Linked DNA regions of Homo sapiens: regions 1 and 3 are each linked to region 2. The links are contacts of gene promoters, found by promoter capture Hi-C in blood cells and fetal thymus (Javierre and others, 2016). All regions are on one chromosome and are shown on one strand. The core of a region is centred on a gene start or on the middle of the fragment in contact, and the rest is flanking DNA. Distances in the headings are between cores, read along the strand shown. Region 1 has its middle 4.3 kb from the start of LINC02322. Region 2 holds the start of DAAM1 (dishevelled associated activator of morphogenesis 1). Region 3 overlaps LOC101927702 (a long non-coding RNA gene).

What was found. The method cuts DNA at HindIII sites, captures the fragments that hold promoters and counts their contacts. A CHiCAGO score of 5 or more calls a contact.
Region 1: a fragment that was not itself captured here is called in contact with the fragment with the promoter of DAAM1 in region 2 in 1 of 17 cell types (naive CD8 T cells); the score reaches 7.8 in naive CD8 T cells.
Region 3: a fragment that was not itself captured here is called in contact with the fragment with the promoter of DAAM1 in region 2 in 1 of 17 cell types (naive CD8 T cells); the score reaches 5.0 in naive CD8 T cells.

Annotation. Positions count from the first base shown.
Region 1 is chr14:60,325,828-60,329,116 of GRCh38, forward strand. No RefSeq gene overlaps it. Among named protein-coding and RNA genes, the nearest start is that of LINC02322, 4.3 kb to the left of the region's middle. RefSeq lists an enhancer at 1,922-1,981 and a silencer at 2,092-2,401. The HindIII fragment of the contact is 1,908 bases long and covers 844-2,751 here.
Region 2 is chr14:59,187,264-59,190,626 of GRCh38, forward strand. It overlaps DAAM1 (dishevelled associated activator of morphogenesis 1), which reads left to right and starts at 1,404. Exons shown (of 25, transcript NM_001270520.2): 1 at 1,404-1,505. RefSeq lists enhancers at 907-1,146, 1,927-2,686, 2,397-2,556, 2,987-3,036 and silencers at 1,617-1,756, 1,817-2,036. The HindIII fragment of the contact is 5,514 bases long and covers 1-3,363 here.
Region 3 is chr14:60,240,237-60,243,571 of GRCh38, forward strand. LOC101927702 (a long non-coding RNA gene) reads right to left here. Exons shown (of 3, transcript NR_188027.1): 2 at 2,527-2,634; 3 at 1-218. Among named protein-coding and RNA genes, the nearest start is that of PPM1A, 7.3 kb to the right of the region's middle. The HindIII fragment of the contact is 370 bases long and covers 1,093-1,462 here.

The DNA.
Region 1 (3,289 bases), core at 548-3,047, 1.1 Mb after region 2:
TACTTTTTGTATTTTTAGTAGAGACAGGTTTTTGCCATGTTGTCCAGGCTGATCTCAGACTCCTGGCCTCAAGTGATCTGCCCATCTTGGCCTCCCAGAATGCTTGGATTACAGGTGTGAGCCACTGCACCGGCCACAATCTGCATTTTAACAAACTTCCCAGGTGGTGCCAATGACATTAAAGTTGCAGCAGCACTGCTCAGGAGCTGTGCATTGGAATCACCTGGAGTACTTGAAAAACTATTGATGCTCAGGTCCCAACCACAAAGACTCCCCCAACTTAACTGGCATTGGGGTTTTAAAAAATTTCTCCAGGTCATTGTAACTAATGCACAAGGTGAGAACTTGTGCTCAAGAGACATTCTTTCTTCTTCCTCCACTTATTTCTACAATTGCTTTTCTCTTAAAGTAAAAATCTCAAGCTACAGTCAAAGTTCATTTCATGTCCATTTTATAGATAATGCCACACAATGTGAAGATTCATTCTGAATTTAAAAAATAACCTTTACAAATATCTTCTGAACCTTTGCCAAGGTCCCCACATCCCTCTTTTATTGTGAGGTCCAGAACTAGACACAGTCCTCCAGTACAGCCCTCAACATCACTGAACAGCAGCACAAGGGATGTTTGTATTCTTCTGAATGAAAGGTACTGTTATAAAGAAAGTCAGAACATTCGAAGGGGGTGGGGGCGGCTTTGATGGCCAAGCAAAAGATTTCCTCATGCCTACACTCAGTCTGGGAGTGAATGAGCCAGTTACATAAGGAGAAAATCCTCCTTCCTAGTGTTGAGCTTTCCTAATTGGAGGACTAAATGTGTCATTATTTAACTAAATAATTAATAAGCTTTCTTGTAATTCATGGATGACTAAACAGATAAACTCACCTGTACCAAACTTTCAGAGAGAGTTCCACTGATTTAATAAATTTGGTTCATGTCATCAGCATAAAAGTCATCTGAACCTTGAGCCTCAAAGACCAGTGACCTCCAAACTTGACAACTCAACTTATAAGAATCAACTCGGCTGCTTACTAAACATATATAGATGTCTGAGCAAAGGTATTTGTGGTTTTTAAAAAACTACATCAATTCTTCTCAAACTTTAATGGGGGTGGTGATGTGGTGAGGGCAGGTCTTGTAAAAAATTTAGACTCCCATCAACAGGTCTGAGTAGGGCCTGAGATTCTGCATTCCTAACGATCTCAAAAGTGATACCGTGCCGCTACTTCATGGACCACACTTTTAGTGGCAAGGCCCTAGACAATTTTGATAATCAGCCAGTTTGGGAACCAGAACTTGAGGCATCATAAATGTTACCTGAAATATGAAAAAGCTAATCTCCGCCTCAATGTTTATCAGCAGCTCAGGGTGCATCAGTGAGTGTTACACAGACGGATACAAAATGTGGGTGGGCAAATTTAATTTCAAACGGTGGAAGAAACCTTATTGAGAATGTTTAATTATGTTCATGCTCCGCTAATACGAGAATAGAGTGGACTCTTAAGTTCCTTTATTTCTCTAGTGATCTATTCTTTAGAGTTCACCAGCAAACACAAAGGCGGGAGGAACCGTTACTTTAAATTCATATTATTTTAGCTGATGTATCTGGAGCACAGTGATAAATTAATCATGACGTCTGGTCTGATTCACAATCATGTTCTAGCCTAATTTACACTTTGCATTTGCAGAACTGAAATGCGATGCATTAAAATGGTCACACACCACGGATTTTTCTCCTCGCTGCACCCATGGAGGGAGGCGCTGTCTCCGCCTTTTCCTGTAAGCACCTGCCCGGGGCCCAAGCCCACAGTGGATGGCTCGTCCAGCTCAGAGAGCGCCCAGGACGCAGTGAGGAAGCAGAATTGGGCGCTCAAGACTCAGACCCGGACTGATGAGCTAAGACTGCTTGCAAGAGGGAGTGGGAGTCGTTAAAAAAATATCCTCGTGGCTTAATGACCAAGGCGGGTTTATTCTCAAGGAAGGGGGAGCGGCGTGGTGGTGTTACTAAACATAACAGATGGCAGCTGTCTGCGGCTATATAGGGCGCGCTGACAAATCCCTCTGGATGGCCACGCGGCGCTGGGCTGCGGGGCCTGGGTGCACTTCGCGCCTGGCTCGGAGGGCGCCGCCTGCGGGAGGACCTCCGGGAGCCGAGCTGCCTCCCCGCAAACCCGGCCCGGGCCCACGCGGGCTCAGGGCGCCAGGCGGGGTGCGCCGAGGTGCAGCTCCCCGGCCCTAGGCTTCGCTGGGGTGGGGGTCGAGGCCTCTCCGCGGGTGGCTCCCTCCACCCTGCCGCCCCGCCTCGCGGCTGGGAGTTGCCCGGGAGCTGTGAATTCACTAGACCAGCATTCACCCAGGGCCTGCGGGGGCTGTGAAAGGATGGGAGGACTCGGCTCCCCAACCCACCTTTACAAAGCCGAAGTGTGGCTGGTGAGGTACCCGACACGCACACACTGCACCGTGATACTGAACCATGCCTGAGTGTGCATTTTGTGCGAAATGGGTCTTAGCCATGATTTCCATGTGGTGAACATCTTTTCCAAACCCCGGATTGAAACACGATTATCAGGTCAATAACATTTTTTCTATGATTTGGAGATTGATTCAGATGGGCAAAATCTTACAAAGTTAATAATCTTATAAAAATCTTACATAATAATCTTAAGTCGCTTTTAGAGAGACATTTAAAAAATATGTCTATTGAAAATAATAAAATTCAGTGAAATTGGACAGGACTGTGGCAGTTGGGGAAGCTTCCTGGAAGATCGGGCAGAAAGAGAGCTTGCCAGTTTGGGCTTGGGATGGGCAAAAACAGAGGGGATTGAGAGTTCTGGGGACTCAATAACGTACATCACTGTGATTTTCAAGCGGCAAATTTCTTTAGAAAGGTAAGGCCAGACAGACTAATGGGAACTGTCCAAGGAGAGGGAACAGAGGAACCCTCTGCACTTTTGGGGCTATGGTCTCTGAAATCGGCTGCAAGGACCACCACCTAGGGGTCGTGTGGTGCATGTCATGTGCTTGGCTTTCTGCAGCAGTGTTGGAGAGTTCCATGGGAAAAGCCTCCTCTCCCCACCCCTCATCATCTCCTCGACCCCTTTCTCAACAAATGTCAGGGACTAAGGCTTCCTTATTTTCTCCTCAATCACCTTGCAGTGCTTTTCACTGAAGGTGAGAAAGGTTGAGGTTCATTCATTCATTTAACAAATGTTTAAGAGCCTTCTATGTGCTAAGCCCAGGTGCTTGGAACCTGAACAAAACAGGTAAGAATCCCTGCCTGCGTGGAGTT
Region 2 (3,363 bases), core at 154-2,653:
ATTTTTTCACTTGAACCCAACTTAGTGTTGCAGAATGAAAGGAGAAAATAAATGATAAGAGTTCCACCAACACTTCAGTAGGGAGTTGTCTGAAATCTTAATTGTGAACCTTTTTTTCACAAGATGCACAGTCTTCTAGAGATTTTGCTAGTGGAACGGGTGTGTGAGCTGATCATTATATGGAATTGAGACACATCAAATGCCATTAAAATTTACATTTACAACTCGAGTAACTAAATGCATTGATTCTTTTCATATTAAAAGACACTTGGTATTCACTGAATAATGAAAAATGCCACGGAAAAAATTATGTATTAACAATACAACCTGCCTAAAGGGTCAGAATTCTGCTACACACCTTTTGCTTACCTTTAAATAAATATTTAGGTGTGTTAAGAGCAGGGCAATTCTTGAACGGCACGATGTTGTTTGGTTTAATGTCTTTATAAAAATATTTGAAAAGGTATGGAAAATGAGGTGAGAGTGTTGTGGATTTAAAAACATGTGTATACATAGATACACAATTATTAAAACTTTAGACAAGGACGTTTTCTTCCTGGGAGTGGAGAGCCACCAGCGCGGGAAGTCTGCTGCAGGGATGAACAAAAGCATGGCTGCACGATAGTATTATCTTTGCAGCAGCAGCAGGCGCCCTGACGGAGGGTTGCGGCGACTGTCTAGTCTATCACACCGCACTTCTGGTAGTGACAACCTCCGTTATTCTGTCAGCTCAGCCGACTAAGTGGTTCCCCGCGTTCTGCCTGGTCACCTTGTCTCCGTTAAACGGGAAGCAGAAAAGAGAAAGGTGAATTGAGGGGGTACAAGGAGATTCCTCCGCCTTGGGACCGGCGTCGCCCCATCCTCTGGAAGTGTTGAGCGGGGAGAATTCGAGGACCGTATTTAACCCAGAAAACAGTAAGCCCTCTGAATTAGCTGCTACGCCTGGGGAAGGCAGAAAAGTCTTAATCGTCCCTTCCCAGCAGGGACCAAGAAAGACCAGTTAGAGCGAGCCTGGCCGGACCACGCGAGCCCCGGACCTCTCCGATCCTTCAGAGCCCGCGCCGGGCAAAGTAGAGGTCAAGTCAACACACACGACCGCAGGGCAGCCCTCCCACTCTCCCGTGCGGTCCGCAGCTCGGCTTCGGAACGACCACCGCTAACACTGCAAGGCTGTAAGGCTGGGAGGGGGCGGGTCCTGAAGGGGGCGGGAATAAGAGGCGGGGCAGAAGGGCGGAGGAGTGTGTCGGGAGATGTAGTTCCGCGAGTCCCGACAGCAAAGCTGTCCCGGCTCCGCTAATAGATTGGGACCACTACTCCCAGGAGTCTGCGCGCCCGACCGGAGCGTCCATGCGCAGTGGGAGCCACTTTGTATCCTATCAGGCGAGGAGAGGGTGATGTCACCTGCGAGTTAGTAACCTACGAGCGGCTGTGAAGGAAACTGTTTAACCGGATCCCATTGTACCCAGAGTGCAGAGCCGCCTTTCCAGCATGCAGGGGCTGCTCAGGTAAGGGGGACGCTCCTCCTTGCCCGCCGCACTCATTCATTAAGTGGCACTGCTCAGTGGTGCGGGGGTGGGCGTGCTTCCGTGGGCTGGGCGCTGGGTTCGCGGCGCGCCCTCCTGCTGCCTCCCCGGAGCTCCCGGGCCAGTAGGTAAATATTAAACCCGTCCTTCAGGTTGGGTCTGGGTGGGAACGGGACCGAGACAGCTCTCGGCTGCCTAGCTGGGGGTGGGAAAATGGCTGCAGCGCAACGCAAACCGAGGCAGCAGGGAGGAAGACGCCCCCAAGGACTGGGGTCCCTCCCTTTCTTTCTAAGGCGCCCGGCTGGCCGAGGAGCTGGCGGGGTAACACTCGCCGCCTTGCTGAAGGCTCCCCGGGGCTGGGGCCGCGGGTACTGCAGCGGCGTCCGCGAGCTCCCGGCCCGGCGGCTCCGAGAGGGAGAACCCCGAGGCAGGCTTGGTGGACACGGCGGTGGCGACAGGGAAGGAGGGACTCGTGTACCCGTTCGCGTCCGAGCAGAGCCCCCAGTGCCCCTGGCACCCTCACTTCCAGCCCCATTCGAAAGGGACGGAGCGCCTGTAATTCAGACTAAGTTGGACCTAAATGTTTCAAAACAGAGAGAAGGGAAATCGGGCGTTGCGGAGGGAGAGCAGGGTGTTGGCGGCCGGGGAGGCTGCGCCGCCTGCGGACCCGGTTGTGAGGCACCGCAGAGGGCTTTTGCCGCCCGTCCCTCTCGGGAGGGCGCATCTCAGTCTCCACGGTCCCTTGGTGTAGAGCACCTGGGCTGGGGCGAAGCGCCTGCCCTGAAGCCCTGGGCCAGGAGGTGGTAGCGCGGGGGTGGAGGTGTCGGATAATCTAATGATTAGGCTCGCTGTGGGGCAGGAGGGCTGGATAATCGGGTTTACCCAGCTGGTTCTGAAAGCCAACTGCTTGTGATCGGCTTGCCCTCTGAGTGGAGACGTGCAGGAGGCCCAGAGCTCTCAGTCCTCTGGATGTTCTTTGCCTTTCCTAGTACCTTCATTTGTTCGTTTACTCATTCATCAAACCCTGCTAAGGTCTCAAGTTGTTCACGGCCTGGCTTTGCGGAGCTACCTCTCGCCCCATAACATATTTAGTGATGCCTGAACTCCATTCCCCTCTCCTTCATCTCCACTTTCTGGAGAGCATCAAGAGCAAATGCCACCGTGACCGTTTTGCTGGTAGTTTCTTGAGATTCGAGCAGGACCCAGTGAATCGAAGCGGAGTTGCCTGCAAGATGAATCCCGTTGCCATGGCGACTCCTGCCTTCGGAATCTTAGCCGCTGCCACTGCTGTTTCGATTCGATGTGGCTCTGCGGGCAGCTGGGAGGGAGTGGCTAGTGGGTGTGGTCAAACGCTCGCCCTGGCCCAGCTGCTCTCTCCTCCTCGCCCCTTTCACAGCCCCGGGACTCTCCCCTTTCTCTCCTAAATAGCTTGGACACAGTTCTAAACCCCTTTCCCTTCCCCGTGCCACACCTCATCACGCCACCTCTCTCCCTGAAACTAATTGTTTGGCGCCTTTTTCCTGAGGCAAACTCTGAAAATTATAATTTGAAAAATCTCTTCCCCCTTTCGGGCTAGCCGCATCATTTCCCCAATAAGGTAGTTTATGGTGTTGGAGGCAGCTTTGTCATGAAAGGCGCCCTCCCCTGTTGTGCATAAAGAGAGCTCTCTGGTCACCAGCAAAGGCCCTCAATTTGCTCTAGGTGCAGCTGATTGGAAGTGATTAGGGACAATTAATAACGGCTGGAAGACACTGCAGTCCCTTGTGGTTCTCATAAAATCTAAAGCCAGGCTAGAGGGCGCAGGTCCTTGAGGGTGAAGCATGCAGGGCCATAACCAGGA
Region 3 (3,335 bases), core at 28-2,527, 1.1 Mb after region 2:
TCACCCAGGTATTAAGCCCAGCACCCATTAGCTGTTCTTCTTGATGCTCTCCCTGCACCTCACAGGCCCCAGAGTGTGTTGTTCCCCTTCATATGTCCATGTGTTCTGCTCGTTCAGCTCTCACTTATAAGTGGGAACATGCAGTGCTTGGTTTTCTGTTCCTGCGTTAGTGTGCTGAGGATGACAGCTTCCAGCTCCATTCCAGAGTCTACGAAGAACTTAAACAAATATACAAGAAAAAAAAATTTTAAAGTGAGCAAAGGGCATGAACATTTTCTTATGTATGTACACATTATTGGGTCAGGCAACGTGGTAGGTGCATTGTGTACAGGATGTCATTTATTTCTGCAAGGTAGTTGATATACCCTGTTCCAGAAGAGGAAACCAAGTCTGAGAGAGGTTAAATAACTAGTCTACAGCCTAGGCAAAAGAGAGATGATCTTTGAACTCCAATTCGTGCAGTGGTCAAGGGGTATCCTCTTTGATTGCAACATGTTTAGAATGTTTTAAGGTTATTATTTTTCTGAATGCCTTCAAATGTGACAAGTATGCTCTACTGATCCCCATTGTGTCAGACCCAGCCTGATCTAACATTTATATTACCAGCCTGGTCCCAGTCAAAGGAGCTGGAGTTTTCAGATTCTGGTGCTAACCTGAATTCTACCTACCACTTCTTTACAAAGAGGCCTCTGCCGTGTTTGTACCAGCGGCAGGATGACTTGAAGCTCTCCATGGACATGCGGTGGGGGTGGAGGTGTTGATGGATATTGTCTTGGCTTTTGCCTTATGTGGGATTTTTAAGAAATGTGCAGGAAAAAAAAAACAGGAAAGTGTATTAGGAGAAGGCAGGATAGAAGTTTTCCTCACGTGGAGAGAGCAGGAGAATGGAGGAAGTGACTGCTGGAAGCAAAACTCTAAGAAAAAACCAATTTTACTTGGAGCTTAAAAAAGATTTTGCTGTGTAATGTGCATTGTAACTCTTCTCCCATCTCCCCAAGGCATCTTTGGTAAAGATGTCATTGTTGGGCTTTTTGTTTTCCATGGCACAATGCACTGAAAGGGCCTCAAGGGGAAAGCAAGTCATCTCTGGAAAGCTTAGCCAGAATTTGCAACAGAAAGAGTGGGAATTTTGGAATCAGGTCCTAGGCTTGCAAAAGAGCTCTTTTTCACAGCCTTAGCTTCCTCCTTTGTAAAATGGAAAAAAAAATAGTTTCTTTTTTGCAAAGTTGTTGTGAGAATTAAATAACACTCATGAGGGGCATTGTATGGAGCTTGGCACATTCTAGGCCCTCTTTTTATATTGAACTAATATGATCTTCTCTGTAATTCCCATGAATTAATTCCAGTTCTATTTTGCAAAACATTGATTCTTTAACCTTTTTCATGTAATGGTGCTCCAGTTTGTCTAGATCCTTCAAGAAGAGAAAATGCATATCAACATCTTTGTATCTAGTTGCTCTCAAGCTTAAAATGATGTCATTTTTCAATTATTGCTTTTATTATACAGTAAAAACATATTTAGAAGAGACTCAAGATAAATATTAAAAGTTAAGCTAGTTACTGAACAAATTTCTTAAATATTTACGAAAAATAAGATCAACACACATTTGACCATGGCAGCTTTTCTAAAGGCAAAGGATCTAATTTGGTGATTAACTAACCATATTGAGCACTCATTAGGTGTCAGGGATGTACCAGTTCTTCTACTGTATTTGGGTGTTTTTAATTATGAATAACCAAATACAAAAATCAAAGTAGTTTAAACAATGAGGAGCATTTATTATCACTCTTAAAAATAAATTCCCAAGGTGGGCAATTGCACGGATGGCTCAATGGCTTTACAATGTGAAAGATCCAGCCACTTGCTATCAATTCTTTTCTCTACATTGCCTTGGTTCTTTGCAAGATAACCTTGAAATTCCAGGCTCACATATAGAAATAACAACATATGGCTGAGGAAGGCATTTTCTCTCCTGTGATTCTTCTTATTAGGGAAGAAAACCTCTCTACCCCCTCAAGACTTCTCAATTTCCTTTATCCAGAATTGGGCTACCTCACTATGTCCCCAGGCAGTGCTTCTCAATTTTTTCACACCATGACACAAATACAAAGATAACGTTTTTGTGACACAGAGGGGTACCTGGGTAATGTTGCTTGTGGCCAGTCATACCATCCCAGGGCTTCAGCAGCTCAGCCTCACTTGAATGTCCCAAGGGCTTAAGGGATCCATACCTTATCACATCTATGACCCATCTGAGACATACCAGGGTATGCTGGCACATAGATTGGTATGCTCTGCTCTAAGCTACAAGGGAGGGTGAGAGAGCATGCATCCATATACATGCTCTAGTGAGAGAAGGATCTGCCAACGAGGAGGCTCTGCCAAGTAGTAGGAAGTGGTGGGGCAACCAACCGCATCAGTCATCTTTTCAAGGGTGCCTTCATCTATTCTAATTTTCACAACACATTTTAGGAGGAAGTATTCTGTGGAGGATAAAACCAAGGCTTATAATTTAAATGACTTGCCTGAGGTCACAGAACCAGTGAGTGGTTCAATTGACACAGCAGATGCAGATCCAGGTGTGTGCTGGGAAATGTTTAACAACCACCTTTCCAAATGTAGTTCCAACATGGCTATTGGTTAATATTTTCATTTAAGATAAAAATAAAACAACAAAAATGTATGTTAGAGCTTATTAGTCAATGATGTGACTTCATTGCTAAATTGAATGTTTTTATGCTATTCACCATGTAACAGTTATAGACACGACATGTCTTTTACATTTAATCTGCATAAAACATTTTCTCTGTCACTTAAGCCTAGACCAAGCTTGTCCAACCCTGGGCCTGTGGGCCGCATACAGCCCAGGATGGCTTTGAATGCAGCCCAACACAAATTCGTAAACTTTCTTAAAATGTGAGATTTTGTGTGTGTGTGTGATTTTGTTTCGTTTTGTTTTGTATTAGCTCATCAGCTATCATTAGTGTTAGCGTATTTTATGTGTGGCCCAAGACTATTTTTCTTCTGCCAATGTGGCCGAGGGAAGCAAAAGATTGGACAACCCTGGTCTAGCCCACAACCAGCAAAGCAATAAGTGAAGCCCTCATCTGTGGTGTCCGCTGATCAAGCTACCAAAGAAAACTCACTAAATGTGGTATTGGGAAGAGATGTACAATTACATATAGGGAATTTCCACCATGCAGACACAATGCATGTAAATTGCCTAAAGAACAAAGACAATATTAAAATGTATTAACATAATTTGGAAGTGATGTTTTTATCACATACTACCTTTGTTTAAAATTTATTTCATTGGAAGTTTATCTAACTTAAT